2 separate regions of the Homo sapiens genome follow, and region 2 is linked to region 1. Evidence: promoter capture Hi-C in human tissues and cell types (Jung and others, 2019). All regions are on one chromosome and are shown on one strand. Each heading gives the region's core, a stretch centred on a gene start or on the middle of the fragment in contact. The rest is flanking DNA. Distances are from core to core; before and after follow the strand shown. Region 1 holds the start of MMP1 (matrix metallopeptidase 1). Region 2 has its middle 27 kb from the start of MMP8.

Region 1 (7,145 bases), core at 4,220-6,719:
ATGCATCTCAGTGACAAGTATAAAAAGATGTCTGCAGGGATTAATCTTTTGTCTTAAGAGCTGAATTACCTGGTTTAGCAGCCAAAGACCTTTTTCAAGTTTCTGTCTCTACTACTTGCTAGAGGAACTGTCTTGGACAAAAGATTTAGTCATGGAAAGTTGTCCCAGTTTCTTCACCTATGAAATGGAAATAATAGTATCCACCCTAACTATTCCACAGGATTATTGTGAGGATAAAATAGTTTTGTATGTTAAAGGTATAGAGAGCCCAGTAAAGGTTAAATGTTATTTCTTTCAGTGAGAATTCATAAGAATTGACTGATTCTTAGCCAGGCATGGTGGCACATGCCTGTAATCCCAGCCACTTGAGAAGCTGAGGCAGGAGAATTGCTTGAGCCCGGGAAGTGGAGGTTGCAATGAGCCAAGATCATGCCACTGCACTCTAGCCTGGGTGACAGAGTGACACTCTGTCTCAATAGAAAAAAAAAAAGAAAAAGAATTGACTGGTTCAAGGAAAACCAGCTGACCAGCCCAATGGTCATCATAAATGATTATAACTTTAGGAGGCTGATGAGGGAGGATCACTTGAGGCTAGGAGTTTGAGACCAGCCGGAACAGCATAGCAAGACCCTGTCTCTACAAAAATAATAATAATAACAATTAGCTGGGTGTGGTGGCATACACCTGTAGTTCCCCAGTTGCCGTACGAGAGCTGTAGTCCCAGCTACTTGAGAGGCTGATGTGGGAGGATCACTTGAGCCCAGGAGGCGGAGGCTGCAATGAGCCATGGTTATGCCACTGCATTCCAGCCTGGGCAACAGAGCAAGACTCTGCCTCAAAAAGTATAATAATAAAAAAATAAAGAAAGAATTATGGCTGAGGCATAAGTAGTTAAGAGTAATTAAAAAGAACTGGGTAGCAGGCTTAGAGAACATTTCACTTTGTGAAAAACAGAAAAATTCTGAAACAATGGAATATAGTTTGAATTCTGAATCATGGACTAAAAGCTCTGCAGGCCACACACGTGTGTATGTCACAGACTCCAAACAAGCAAGTCATAGTCTGGGCACATGATCAAAATCTCACAGGAAGCTTCCTCACATATTTCAAATCCATCTCAAATTCACATTCACAGATGTAAGAGCTGGGAAAGGACGGTTTTGACAGGGCTGAACTGAGCTATGGTATGAGTAGCACTCATCCCCAGAAAGTCTCTTGGTTTGAATTTCCTTTAAAAGGAGCTATAGCTGCAAAAATCTGTTTCACAAATGTGCTAACTATAAGCATTTTCCACAGTGTTTAATAAACCATGCAGATAAGAAAATATTATTGACAAACAAATTAATAAAATGCTCAAAATAATCTGATACTAAATGCTTGTAGCATGGCATGCAAATCACCAAAAATAAATGTGCTATGCTTCATATAAAATCTCCAGTAAGGCTGAGTGTGGTGGCTCACACCTATAATCCCAACACTCTGGGAGGCCGAGGTGAGAGAACTGCTTGAGGCCAGGAGTTTGAGACTAGCCTGGCCAACATAGTGAGACCTCATCTCTACAAAAAATCTTAAAAATCAGTGGGACATGGTGGTGCACATCTGTAGTTCTAGCTACTTGGGAGTCTGAGGCAGGAAGATTGCTTAAGCCCAAGAGTTTGAGGTCCCTACACTCCAGCCTAAGCGACAGAGGGAGACCTTGTCTCTAAATAAATAAATTAGTTAATTGAATGTCCAGTCAGTTGATATATCCAAATTCTTCCCATGGTAATTTTAAAAACTTTAGTCTTAGGAGAGTAAAAGTCATGGGCATAAGACTTCTTATAAACAACTCAGCCTAATGAGAAATAGACCCTTTATTTAAGTGTCATTTAAGTATCTATTTCTTCATTGATCTATTCATTTATTAACTCATGTAACAATCATTTGCAGACACCTACTATGTTGAGGTAGTATAAACTATAAATTCAACAAGTTTGATAAGGGAAATAAGAGAGATTGAGTGACAGCTTGAAGGGGAGGATTCTTTCAGGCCTGTGGGACCGGGTGGTGGCATGGAGACATTATTGTGGACTTGAGGGAGTTAATGTGACAGTCCTCGTGTCTCCAGACACTTTCTCTCTGTTAGGGAAGCAAGATTTCTATCCCCAGAGTATGTATGTGTTATGTCTGGACTGCAGTGGCACAGAACTGTGTTCAACGAGTGACTACCGCTCTGCTGTGTGCCCTGGGACTTGGGGTTAATTGATCAATCATTTCTACCCAGAAGGTAACCATGAGGACTGACGGAACCAGTGTGTACCAAGTGTCTGTTAAGTGTCTGGTCAATGGTTATCCATAAAGCTACTGCATGGCCATATGTAGGAAGAATACAGACCGTGGGGCAAATTTTTCCCACGTGTAACTCTCACAACAAAATAGCATTAAATACTTAATGTTTCTGGCTAAAGACCATTTCAAGACTTGCAGGACAAAAAAATAGAAAAAATATCTGACACTCAAATGGAGTTACAAAATTAAAACGGCTGAATTCCCCAGCATAAAAAAATATGAAGCAAGATTGAAATTTCAAGACTAAGTTTAATATGGAAAAATACAAATATGTTTGAGGCCTTTCACAGAGCAGCCAGCATGAAGCAACCAAGAAAACCACGGAAATAATCTGGCTGCCTGGAAATAGTCCGGAGTCAGCTGACACAGCCACACGAGAGCCCTCTTATGCTTGTCATAAGGGGTAAAGGAATAATTTCAGAAAATTACATTTAAAAGAGAATTATGGGGGAAGAAGATGCTCCCAGAGGAAACAAATAGTATGGATGTGAAGAGCAAATACAACTTTAACATGTTCTGAACTTCTTGGAAACTATGCTAAGTTTAGGCATTGCTAGGATTTGGTATGATTTAATCCCCAGCTTTCTGTTCTAAATTTTTGTTTTCTTTTTTACTCTCAAATAAATCATATGCTAGCACCAGCTGCAAAGTTACATATGTTGTATTAGACGATCTTCCATGAATACCTAACTGGAAATTCCAAGATTCAGGGCCATGTGAATCTAGGCTGGCTGCTTAACCAAAACTTAATTTAATTTTTTTCGTTTATTTTAGGAAAAAAAATTAACGAAAAGATGTTTCAAGCAACCAGTTTCCAATCCACGTCAGCAACTATGACATTTAATGAAACACTATGAGCATTTAGCATGAGAGCTCTGGACTCAGATGCAGGGAGCTTTGCTAGAGAAGGGAGGAAAAAGCAGGCATGATGTGGCGGGTTGTGGGGGACTCCAAGGCTCTATTTCCAACTTCCATCAGAGAACTTCTGTTTTCACCTGGTTTTCAAATTTGCTTTCCAAAAGGGATTTTGTTTAAGTAAAGGATACAGAGGTTTATAAAAGTTTGAAAACTTCTACATTGCAGGATGTGCAGGCTCTTGCCAGATGGGACAGTGTATGAGACTCTTCCAGGGTGACGTCTTAGGCAATTTCCTGTCCAATCACAGATGGTCACATGCTGCTTTCCTGAGTTAACCTATTAACTCACCCTTGTTTCCCAGGCCTCAGTGGAGCTAGGCTTGTCACGTCTTCACAGTGACTAGATTCCCTCACAGTCGAGTATATCTGCCACTCCTTGACTTTTAAAACATAGTCTATGTTCACCCTCTAATATGAAGAGCCCCTTTCACTATTTTCTTTGTCTGTGCTGGAGTCACTTCAGTGGCAAGTGTTCTTTGGTCTCTGCCGCACCCTCCCTCTGATGCCTCTGAGAAGAGGATTTCCTTTTCGTGAGAATGTCTTCCCATTCTTCTTACCCTCTTGAACTCACATGTTATGCCACTTAGATGAGGAAATTGTAGTTAAATAATTAGAAAGGATATGACTTATCTCAAATCAATCCAAGATATACTGAAGTATTGTTTATGAGTAAGATATCAGTCTTGACGCAGAAAGAAAACAGGAATCCATAAGGGGAGGAAAGTGTTGAAAAGCAAACCTGATACAGTGGGAAAGGTGGGAGACACCATAAGGTGCTGAAGTGATAAAACAGGCCAGTGTTTCTCCACTGTATGTTTTCAATAAATGCTTCCAAGGAAGGAGAGTGGGGCATGAGTAGGGGAGCTACAGAGATAAACCAACTTTTCTTACCAGGAATGCTACAGATAGCACTGGTGACACCGGTCACCAGTACCCAAGACAATTTAATGTGGAACATAAGTACAGGAATACACATCTTTCATTACAGAGCCATGTATTTATTTTAATGGGCAGGAGATGCTAAATAAGATCTTTTGAATGGAGGAATGCATAAATATATGAATGAATGCATACATGAAAGAATAAATAAATGCTGCCTAGCACCAAGGAGCGAAGATAGACTCATATCAAGGGAAACAAGTATGATTAAAAATAAGACCCCAGAGTCACGCTCAGTCTCTTTCCAGCCTTTTCATCATCCGGTACATTCAGACAAGTTTCAGGGAAGGATCCTATTTGTCCCATGATAATGATGGGCAAGGGGTGGGGAGTTATCTCATACTCCGCCTGTGGATGAGGGGTCTTCTCAGGTAAGGCTCTTAAATCCTAGGCCTGAGTAAATTTTTTCAAATTTTATTTTAGACAGGGTCCCTCTCTGTTGCCTAGGCTGGAGTGCAGCGGCACAATCACAGCTCAATGCAGCCTCAACCTCCCAGGCCCAAGTGATCCTCCCACCTCAGCCTCTTCAGTGACTAGGACTACAGGTGCATGACTCCATGCTTGGCTAACTTTAAAAAATGTTTGTTTGTTTGTTTGTTTTTTACAGAGATGGGGTCTCACCATGTTGCCCAGGCTGATCTTGAACTCCTGGGCTCAAGTGATTCCCCTGCCTCGGCCTCCTGAAATTCTGGGATTATAGGCTTGAGCCACCATGCCTGGCTCTGAGTAAAGATTAAGGGAAGCCATGGTGCTATCGCAATAGGGTACCAGGCAGCTTAACAAAGGCAGAAGGGAACCTCAGAGAACCCCGAAGAGCCACCGTAAAGTGAGTGCTGGGGGAGCTGAACTTCAGTCAGTACAGGTGCCGAACAGCCATCAGGTGCGCAGTGTTAGTAATTCCACCCTCTGCCCTGGGAGCAAGGTGTGTGGAGAAACCTGTAGCACTTTATGACCATCAGAACCAGTCTTTTTCAAAAAGACCATGGAGTACTCTTTGACCTGTGTATATAACAAGAACCTTTCTCAAATAGGAAAGAAATGAATTGGAGAAAACCACTGTTTACATGGCAGAGTGTGTCTCCTTCGCACACATCTTGTTTGAAGTTAATCATGACATTGCAACACCAAGTGATTCCAAATAATCTGCTAGGAGTCACCATTTCTAATGATTGCCTAGTCTATTCATAGCTAATCAAGAGGATGTTATAAAGCATGAGTCAGACAGCCTCTGGCTTTCTGGAAGGGCAAGGACTCTATATATACAGAGGGAGCTTCCTAGCTGGGATATTGGAGCAGCAAGAGGCTGGGAAGCCATCACTTACCTTGCACTGAGAAAGAAGACAAAGGCCAGTATGCACAGCTTTCCTCCACTGCTGCTGCTGCTGTTCTGGGGTGTGGTGTCTCACAGCTTCCCAGCGACTCTAGAAACACAAGAGCAAGATGTGGACTTAGTCCAGGTAAATGCTGCATTGCATGTGACAATAATGTAAATTTTTAGTTTGTATTTTTCTGCAGTAATGTAATAGAGTTTTTTAAGGATAGGTTTCTTATAAAGAGATTTTTTTTTTTTTTGCTAGAAACAGCACCCTCCACCCAAAATGTATCTAGCCATGCATACGCTCTCTTTTTCCAGTTGGAGGTGAGAGTGAACTAAAGGAACAACATCCAAACTTGTCTCCACAAATTGTAGACTTGTAACAGTATGCAAATCTTGCTCTACAAAAATTGCTCTACTATGAAGTTCTTACTTCACAATAACTAATAGTAGGGACATTTCTACTCTGAAATTTCATTTCTCACCAAAAATAAGGATAAAAGCAACTGCGAAATCTAAACACAAGGTTTAAAAGCAGTTCTCTGTTTTGGCTAAAACTTAATGCCATCAATTTTTAGAATAATGAGAAAGATTTCCCATGCAGTGTTTCGATAATTTTCTTTTGTCAGAAATACCTGGAAAAATACTACAACCTGAAGAATGATGGGAGGCAAGTTGAAAAGCGGAGAAATAGTGGCCCAGTGGTTGAAAAATTGAAGCAAATGCAGGAATTCTTTGGGCTGAAAGTGACTGGGAAACCAGATGCTGAAACCCTGAAGGTGATGAAGCAGCCCAGATGTGGAGTGCCTGATGTGGCTCAGTTTGTCCTCACTGAGGGGAACCCTCGCTGGGAGCAAACACATCTGACCTACAGGTAGGCAGACTGAGGGCCAGAGTGAGAGAGCTATTTCCCATGACAGTGGTAAGAAGTCATGTCCAATGTGTCTCTATTTTGTTTCATTCTAAGGATTGAAAATTACACGCCAGATTTGCCAAGAGCAGATGTGGACCATGCCATTGAGAAAGCCTTCCAACTCTGGAGTAATGTCACACCTCTGACATTCACCAAGGTCTCTGAGGGTCAAGCAGACATCATGATATCTTTTGTCAGGGGAGGTAAGTTCTTCTTATAGCACCTTAACCTCACCTTGCCCCTAGATCTCGTAGCTTTGCAACTGGAATTGATTGTTTAAGATGAATGTTGATTTTATGGGCTCGAAGAGGGAAACTGCATCACAGTTGATGGAAGTCTGTTGGCCTCTTAACAAAGCTAATGCTTGCCCTTCTGGCTTAGCTTACATAAGAACCACAAGGAATCTTTGTTGAATTGTTTCTTTCAGATCATCGGGACAACTCTCCTTTTGATGGACCTGGAGGAAATCTTGCTCATGCTTTTCAACCAGGCCCAGGTATTGGAGGGGATGCTCATTTTGATGAAGATGAAAGGTGGACCAACAATTTCAGAGGTAAGCCAATCAAATTTGCCTCTCTCAATTCTCCCACCCCTTCATGTTTCATTGTAATATTGGTTGATTTAGTTGAAAGAATGCATTCATAGAAGTATATATTTTTCTATTACCACTCAGAAAATTAGTGATACACTTAGAAAAGTGAAAGAGCGGTCTTTTCTGCTAGCTAACAACATC
Region 2 (7,229 bases), core at 2,446-4,945, 46 kb after region 1:
CTAATAAGTTTGTTTCATTTTATTTAGCTTTGTGATGCACACTAACAAAAGCCAAGATTATCTTAACAAAGAAAATATTGTAGTATTATAGTGTATTGTGTGTTTTAGCAGACTCAACAAGTGCAGTGCAGGAAATAACATCTTATGGAGGAGACCCAGGTTCCTTTGACTGGCGACGGGCTTTGGGAAGCACATTTTACTTTTGCCCTTTTTCTCTCTCTTGTGTTGCCATAAGACCCTGCCTAAGTGGCAGTCCTGGAAGGTAGTAGTCCTAACAAGAAGCAAGAGACCAGGGGACGTCAGGACAATAACTCTCTATATCACTCCTAGCAAAACTAGAATCCCTGCAATGCTCTACAAGCTCTCCCTCTCATCTGCCTCTGTCTTTGCAATCACTCACCTTGTCCCCTACTATTCTTCCCTTTGCCCACTCTGCTCCAGCCACATTGGTCTTGGTGTGCTATTTCTTGAATGTGTGCTCGTTTACTCCCCAACACTTTGCACAAGTCGTTTCCTTGGACAGGAGCACTTTTCCCCCAGATATTTTTATGGCTGACTTAGCCATGCTTTACAGCTTTGCTTAACTGTGTACGATGGGGTGTGTTTCATTGTTGATGGCCTTATTGATGATAATCATGAGTTTGCAAAAGCAACTGGTTAACTTCCATTATGTCACAATTTCTGATGAATATTGAGACTGCACATTGCGAATGAAGAGGATGTCTCCCTAGGTGAATCAAATAGCATTTTGTTGTTTTCTGGGAGTGCCAGGACCCTACATAAAGAGGGAGCCTGTGGGCTGAGACACTGGAACAGCAGTCAGGTAGGGAGCCATCACTTGCCTTGCACTGAGAAGGAAGACAAAGGCCAGCATGTCCAGGCTTTTTTTTTTTTTTTTTTTTTTGCTGCTGGTGCTGCTCTGGGGTGTGGGGTTGCACAGCTTCCCAGCGACTCCAGAAACACAAGAACAAGATGCAGAGATAGTCCAGGTAAATGCTGCATTGCAGCTGCCAGTAATGCAAGAGCAGCGTGTTCCCATTTTTCAAAGGTCAAGAGGTAGGAATTCAAGCAAGTTTGGGATTCATTTAGGAAACAAGTAGTTTGTCAGGAACAGGTCCCCTCATTTAAAAAAAAAAAAAAAAATATATCACTGGGTGCAGTGGCTTATACCAGTAATCACAGCACTTTGGAAGGCTGAGGTGGATCGCTTGAGTCCAGGGTTTGAGGTTGCAGTGAGCTATGATTGCACCACTGGACACCAGCCTGGGCAACGGAGCAAGACACTGTATCAAAAAAAGAAAAAAAGAAAAAAGAAGGTAAAGCTAGAGGGAACCAAAGGAGCAAGCAACACATAGACTGGCTGTACTAACTGTGATTCTGACCTCAAGAGTAAAGCTAGACTTAACAATGGCATGGGTTCTTCTACCACAGTAACATTTCTGCACCACTGCTAAACATAATAAGGGCTACGAGATCACTACAGAAGCAGACAGATTTTTTCCCTCTTCTCATTCAATTATTAAGGAAAAGGGCTATATTGTTACAATAGTGAAATGCTGCAATTTTTCAGAAAACTGAGAAAGACTTTACTTCTACTATTTTAGTATTCTTTTCTTTATAAGAAATACCTAGAAAACTGCTACTACAACTTGAAGAGTGAAATCAATCAAATTGGAAGGCAGAGAGACAGTAGCCCAGTGCTTGAGAAGCTGAAGCAAATGCAGAATTTCTTTGGGCTGAAGGTAACTGGGAAGCCAGATCGAATTTGATGAAGCAGCCCAGATGTGGGGTGCCTGATGTGGCTTCCCTCATCCTCACTCAAGAGAGCCCTTGTTGGGAGCAAACAAATCTGACCCACAGGTAATAAGACTGCGCACCAGAGTGAGAGACAGCTGTTTCCCACCACAGTGGGAAGAAATGAGGTTCTCTGTGTCTCTGTTCTCTCCTTTATCATTTTAAGGATCAAAACTACATGCCAAATCTGCCTCAAGAGGATGTGGACCGTGCCACTGGGAAAGCCTTTGAACTCTGGAGTAAGGCCTCGGCCCTGACCTTCACCAGGGACTTTGAGAGTGAAGGGGACATAATATTATCCTTTGTGTGAGGAGGTAAGCTCTTCTCTCCCAAAACCATTCTGAACGTTCCCTCCTGCTACCCTGGGATCTGCTCCATCAGAATTGCTGATGGAGGAAAGCCTCACAGATGAAGTGTGTCTTTTGGCTCCTTGCTATAGCTCTTTTGTCTCACCTGGGTAAGGCTGAATAAAACAAGGGTATATCTTTGTTGAATTCTTTTTCTTGCAGATCTCCATGACAATTCTCCCTTTTATGGACATGATGGTTGTCTTGCTCATGCATTCCCACCTGGACCAGGTATCGGAGGAGATGTTCATTTTGATAATGATGAAACAAGGACCAAGGATTTCAGAAGTGAGTCAGCTAATTCCTTCACTGCCTCTTTTATTTTTCCTTCCCATAGCTTATAGAATTTTTTTTGTTTTATCTGAAAGAATGCTTTCAGTAAAATGAACCAATTTTGACTTTATTAGTATAAATACTTTAATAAATATAAACTGTTGACACTATAAATTACTTTAAAAAGGTAACTATTTTGTCTCATTTCATAAAAATGTAAGAGAATAATATTTCTTCAAGCTGTGTAATTTTACTGACAAAAATACATTACTCTAAAATTTTTACTAGAATGTTTAATATCATATCATTATGTACATTTGTCAACTATTCAGTGCTTTGAAAATATTCAGGTTTTTGGATTTTGCATGCATAAAATGTAAGGACACTAGACCCTATCACAGTGCAAAATAAGTAACTTAAAGGAGTTTATTTGAGAGGCTGAGGTGGGTGGATCACTTTTAGGCCAGGAGTTCAAGCCCAGCCTGGCCAACATGGTGAAACCCTGTCTCTACTAAAAATACAAAATTAGCTGGGCATGGTGGCGTGTGACTGTGGTCCCAGCTACTCAACTTGGGAGGCTGAGGCACGAAAATCACTTGAACCAGGAGGCAGACGTTGCAGTGAGCCAAGATCGCACCACTGCACTCCAGCCTAGGGGACAGAGTGAGACTCTGTCTCAAGAAAATTTAAAAAAAAATTAAAAACTGGTTTAAATAAGCAAAGAATCTTGAAGCATACTAGCATAAGGTGTATATCTTGCCAATAAGGAGGATTTTTAAAAATATGAAGTTTCAAACTGCCTTTCTATGAGGTGGTAACTTCTATTTGTGCAGAGATACTCTGGCTTCATGATGTAAGATGAACTGACATTCTGGAGTAACCAAATGAACAAATACAGAATCCTTTGTCTGGAGTCAGCCTGGTCGAAAGCTCAGATATGTCTTCTGCAGAAGGTGTCCATCTGCCTCCCACCCTTGTAGTCCTGCAGGGTGCCCACCACACACACACACACCTGTGTAGCTTGAGAAGTAACCCAATTATACTAAGAAGAAAGGTCTTCTCGAGTGCACCTTACATTGGAATAAAACTCTCCATCCACTTCTCGTGAAGCAAATGTCTGGAGGAAATTCTGTCTAATATCTACTAGACTCCAGGCAAATCTTTTCATGGCCGATTTTTTGTTGACAGGCAGTAAGCACTGGGTCGTTCAGGAGGATCAACTGCTGAGTGGCTACCCCAGGGACGTCTACAGCTCCTTTGTCTTCCCTGAAAGGGTGAAGAAAATTGATGCTGCCATTTATGAGAAGGACACTGGAAAGACACATTTCTTTGTTGCCAATGAGTATTGGAGGTAAAGACCTACCCTCAGAAAACTTGGGAAATCAGATCACTCTGGTGGAAGGAGAGTTGCCTTTTAAAATTTTTCTCAAATTTCACTGAAACTTTCCTTTTTTCTGAGAATGAATGCAGCCAGGCCCACAGCCATTCAGTCCCCTACCTGTTATCACACTGCTGCCTAGCAAGGCAAGGAACTTGTTGGCTTGCATTTGAAAAGGAGATAAAGAGCAGAACACACAAAGGGGACTAGAGGCATCCAAAAAGGAGAAAATGAAGCATTTCTCCTTGATAGGACAGAACATGGAGCCCAAGGGAAAATTTGAATCAGATTTTTATGGTTGAGAATAACTTAGAGTTTGTCTAGTTTGCCCCACTCTCCCTCCCAGTTAAAATTTCTTAATAGTTTCATGCCAACAATGTACCCACCCATAATTTTTAAAAGCAGCCATCGGGGTTTTGCAAAATTGAGGCACAGACAGTACCTACCTCTCAGATTTGTTGTGAGAATTAAATGAATCTTCATATGAAAAGCACTTAGGACAGTGATTAGTACATGGAAAGTTCTACATGAAAGTTAAGTGTTTTTTATTGTTTTTATATTAACCACAATGTGATATTTTTAGTTATTTTTTGTTACCAGGTATGATGAAAATATGCAGTCCGTGGATGCAGGTTATCCCAAAATCATTGATGACCTCCCCGGAATTAGTAAAAAAAATTGACCTGTTTTGAAAAATAAAGGTAAAGACCATTCAATTTCCTCATTTCACTATCATAAAATTACACATTTAGTGTTACATAGATAAGACAGTAAACTGTGTACACAAAAATATGATATTTTCAAGAGTTCATGTGAAAAATCATTATCTAGTTTCTTTTATTTCTAGGTTTTTTCTATTTCTTTTGTAGAAGAAGGCAGTATGAATGTAATCCTAAAATGAAGCAAATTTTGACTCTCCTGAAAGCTAACATCTGGTTCAAGTGCAGAAATAACTGATGGTTGACTATCACCAAACAGAAAATAAAAAGTATTTTTAATGAGCCCAAAATATGTTCTTTTCTAAGAAACCAGGTATTTCAGTATTTTATTTCAGTCTCTTGGTAACACAAGGCAGAGACATAGAAATACAATCTTATTTAACTTCAATCTGAACATATTCTATGTTAGCTAGAATATATTGCTTCATGAACTTATATAAGTTAGTTTTAAGCAAGTACTAAGGGTTGTCAATCAAGGTCATCCTTAGGTTTTCACAGAAAAAAGCTTTTTACTAGAGTCCAAGACTCTGACTTTAACCTGAGCAGCTGCACATATGGGATGCATATCTCAATCCACCCAAGACAATAACAGCCCTCAGTTTCAACAAAGAAAAAACAGCGTAAAACTGTATCATCCTTACATGTACATGGCAACACTGTCACATATTAAAGAAAACAGACACTTAAACTTCGTATAAAAAATAAAGTGGCTGGGCACAGTGCCTCACGCCTGTAATCCCAGCACTTTGGGAAGCTGAGGCAGATAGATCACTTGAGGTCAGGAGTTCAAGACCAGCCTGGCCAAAATGATGAAACCCCATCTCTACTAACAAAAAATACACAAATTAGCCGGGTGTGGTGGCAGGCACCTGTAATCCCAGCTACTTGGGAGGCTGAGTCACAAGAATCACTTGAACCCAGGAGGTGAAGGTTGTAGTGAACCAAGATCGCGCCACTGCACTCCAGCCTGGGCAGTAGAGTGAGATTTAGTATATATATTTTAAAAAGGTAACTTTTATCAACATATAATATGAATACAGAAAAGCCATGTATCATAAGTATATAGCTGATGACTCTTCACAACACAACCAAGTAACCAGCACACAAAAGAAAATTGCCAGTATCCCCAAATCCCTTCTCCAGGTACTAAGCTTTCTAAGGGTAACTACTATCCTAACTTCTAATCTAATACCATAGATTAGCTTTATCTCTTTCAGTACTTAAAATAAATGGAATTATACATTATATACCTTAGTATCTGACTTCTGTCACTCAACATTATATTTATGAGATTCATCAATATATTTTTATGTAATTTTTGATCATTTATTCTCTTTGCTGTAGAGTTTCCATTGAGTGAATAATTTCCCACAATTTATCTCTCCAGTCTATGTTGAAGGACATATAAGTAGTTTCCAATTTGGGGCTATTACAAATAGTCTTCAGGGGAAGCAGAGCAAGATAGTTGAATAGAAGCTTCCAATAGTTGTCCTCACACCCCCGCAAGAACACAAAATTGAACAACTATTCACACAAAAAAGCAACTCCATAAGAACCCAAAATCGGGTGAGCAATCACACTACCTGGTTTTAACATCATATTAAGGAAAGAGGCACTGAAAAGGGTAGGAAAGACAGTCTTGAATGACCTACACCAGCCCTCTCCTATCCCCCTGCAGTGATCATATGGCATGAAGAGAGAATCTGCACTAGGGGAAGAGGGAGTGTACAGTGATTGTGAGACTTTGCATTGGAACTTAGTGTTGCCCTGTCATTAGTGTTGCAACACCAGGCAGAATTCAGTCAGCTCTTATGGAGGAAGAGAGAGAGAGAGAGAGAGAGAGACTCAATTTGGTGGGTAGGGGGGTGGGGGGGAAGTCAGGAAAGAGAAGAAGAGTCTCTGCCTGGTCATCCAGGGAATTCCTCTAGATCTTACCTAAGACTACCAAGCTGGTACATCTGTGGGTCTACAAGAGCCACAGGTTTACTGGGCTTGGGGTGCCCCCTAAAGCACATATGGCTGCTGTGACCAAAGACTTAGATCATAACAACCAAGTTGCTTGGAATACCTGGAAAGCCTTCCCAAAAAGGACAGGTACAAACAAGTCCAGACTAAAAAGACTATGATAAATACCTAACTCTTCAATGCCCAGACACTGATGAACATCTGTAAGCATCAGGATCACCCAGAAAAACACTACTTCACCAAACAAACTAAATAAGGCACCACAGACCAATCCTGGAGAGACAGAGATATGTGACCTTTCAGACAAAGAATTTAAAATTGCTCTTTTGAGGAAGCTCATCAAAATCCAGGATAACATGGAGAAGGAATTCAGAATCCTATCAAATAAATTTAACAAAGACATTGAAATAATTACGTGGAATCAAGCAAACATTCTGAAACTAAAAAATGCAATTGACATGCTGAAGAATGCATCAGAGTCTCTTAACAGCACAATTGATCAAGCTGAAGAAATAGTGAGTTTGAAGACAAGCTATTTGAAAATACACAGTCAGAGGAGACAAAAGAGAAAAGCATACGTACAAGATCTAGAAAATAACCTCAAAAGGGTAAATGAAAGAGTTATTGACTGTAAAGAGAAGGTAGAGAGAGAGAGATTAGAGTAGAAAGTTTATTCAAATGGATAATAACAGAGAATTTCCCAAACCTAGAGAAAGATATCAAGTACAAGAAGGTTATAAAACACCAAGCAGA

The links. Contacts are between HindIII fragments. The study calls those that stand out against the background at their distance.
Region 2: a contact is called between a fragment that was not itself captured here and the fragment with the promoter of MMP1 in region 1, in 1 of the 25 tissues and cell types used here (mesenchymal stem cells).

The regions. Positions count from the first base shown.
Region 1 is chr11:102,796,484-102,803,628 of GRCh38, reverse strand. It overlaps MMP1 (matrix metallopeptidase 1), which reads left to right and starts at 5,469. Exons shown (of 10, transcript NM_002421.4): 1 at 5,469-5,641; 2 at 6,129-6,373; 3 at 6,467-6,615; 4 at 6,840-6,965. The coding sequence starts at 5,537. It also overlaps the pseudogene WTAPP1. The HindIII fragment of the contact is 22,607 bases long and covers 1-7,145 here.
Region 2 is chr11:102,748,587-102,755,815 of GRCh38, reverse strand. No RefSeq gene overlaps it. Among named protein-coding and RNA genes, the nearest start is that of MMP8, 27 kb to the right of the region's middle. RefSeq lists an enhancer at 2,144-3,343. The HindIII fragment of the contact is 8,712 bases long and covers 1-7,229 here.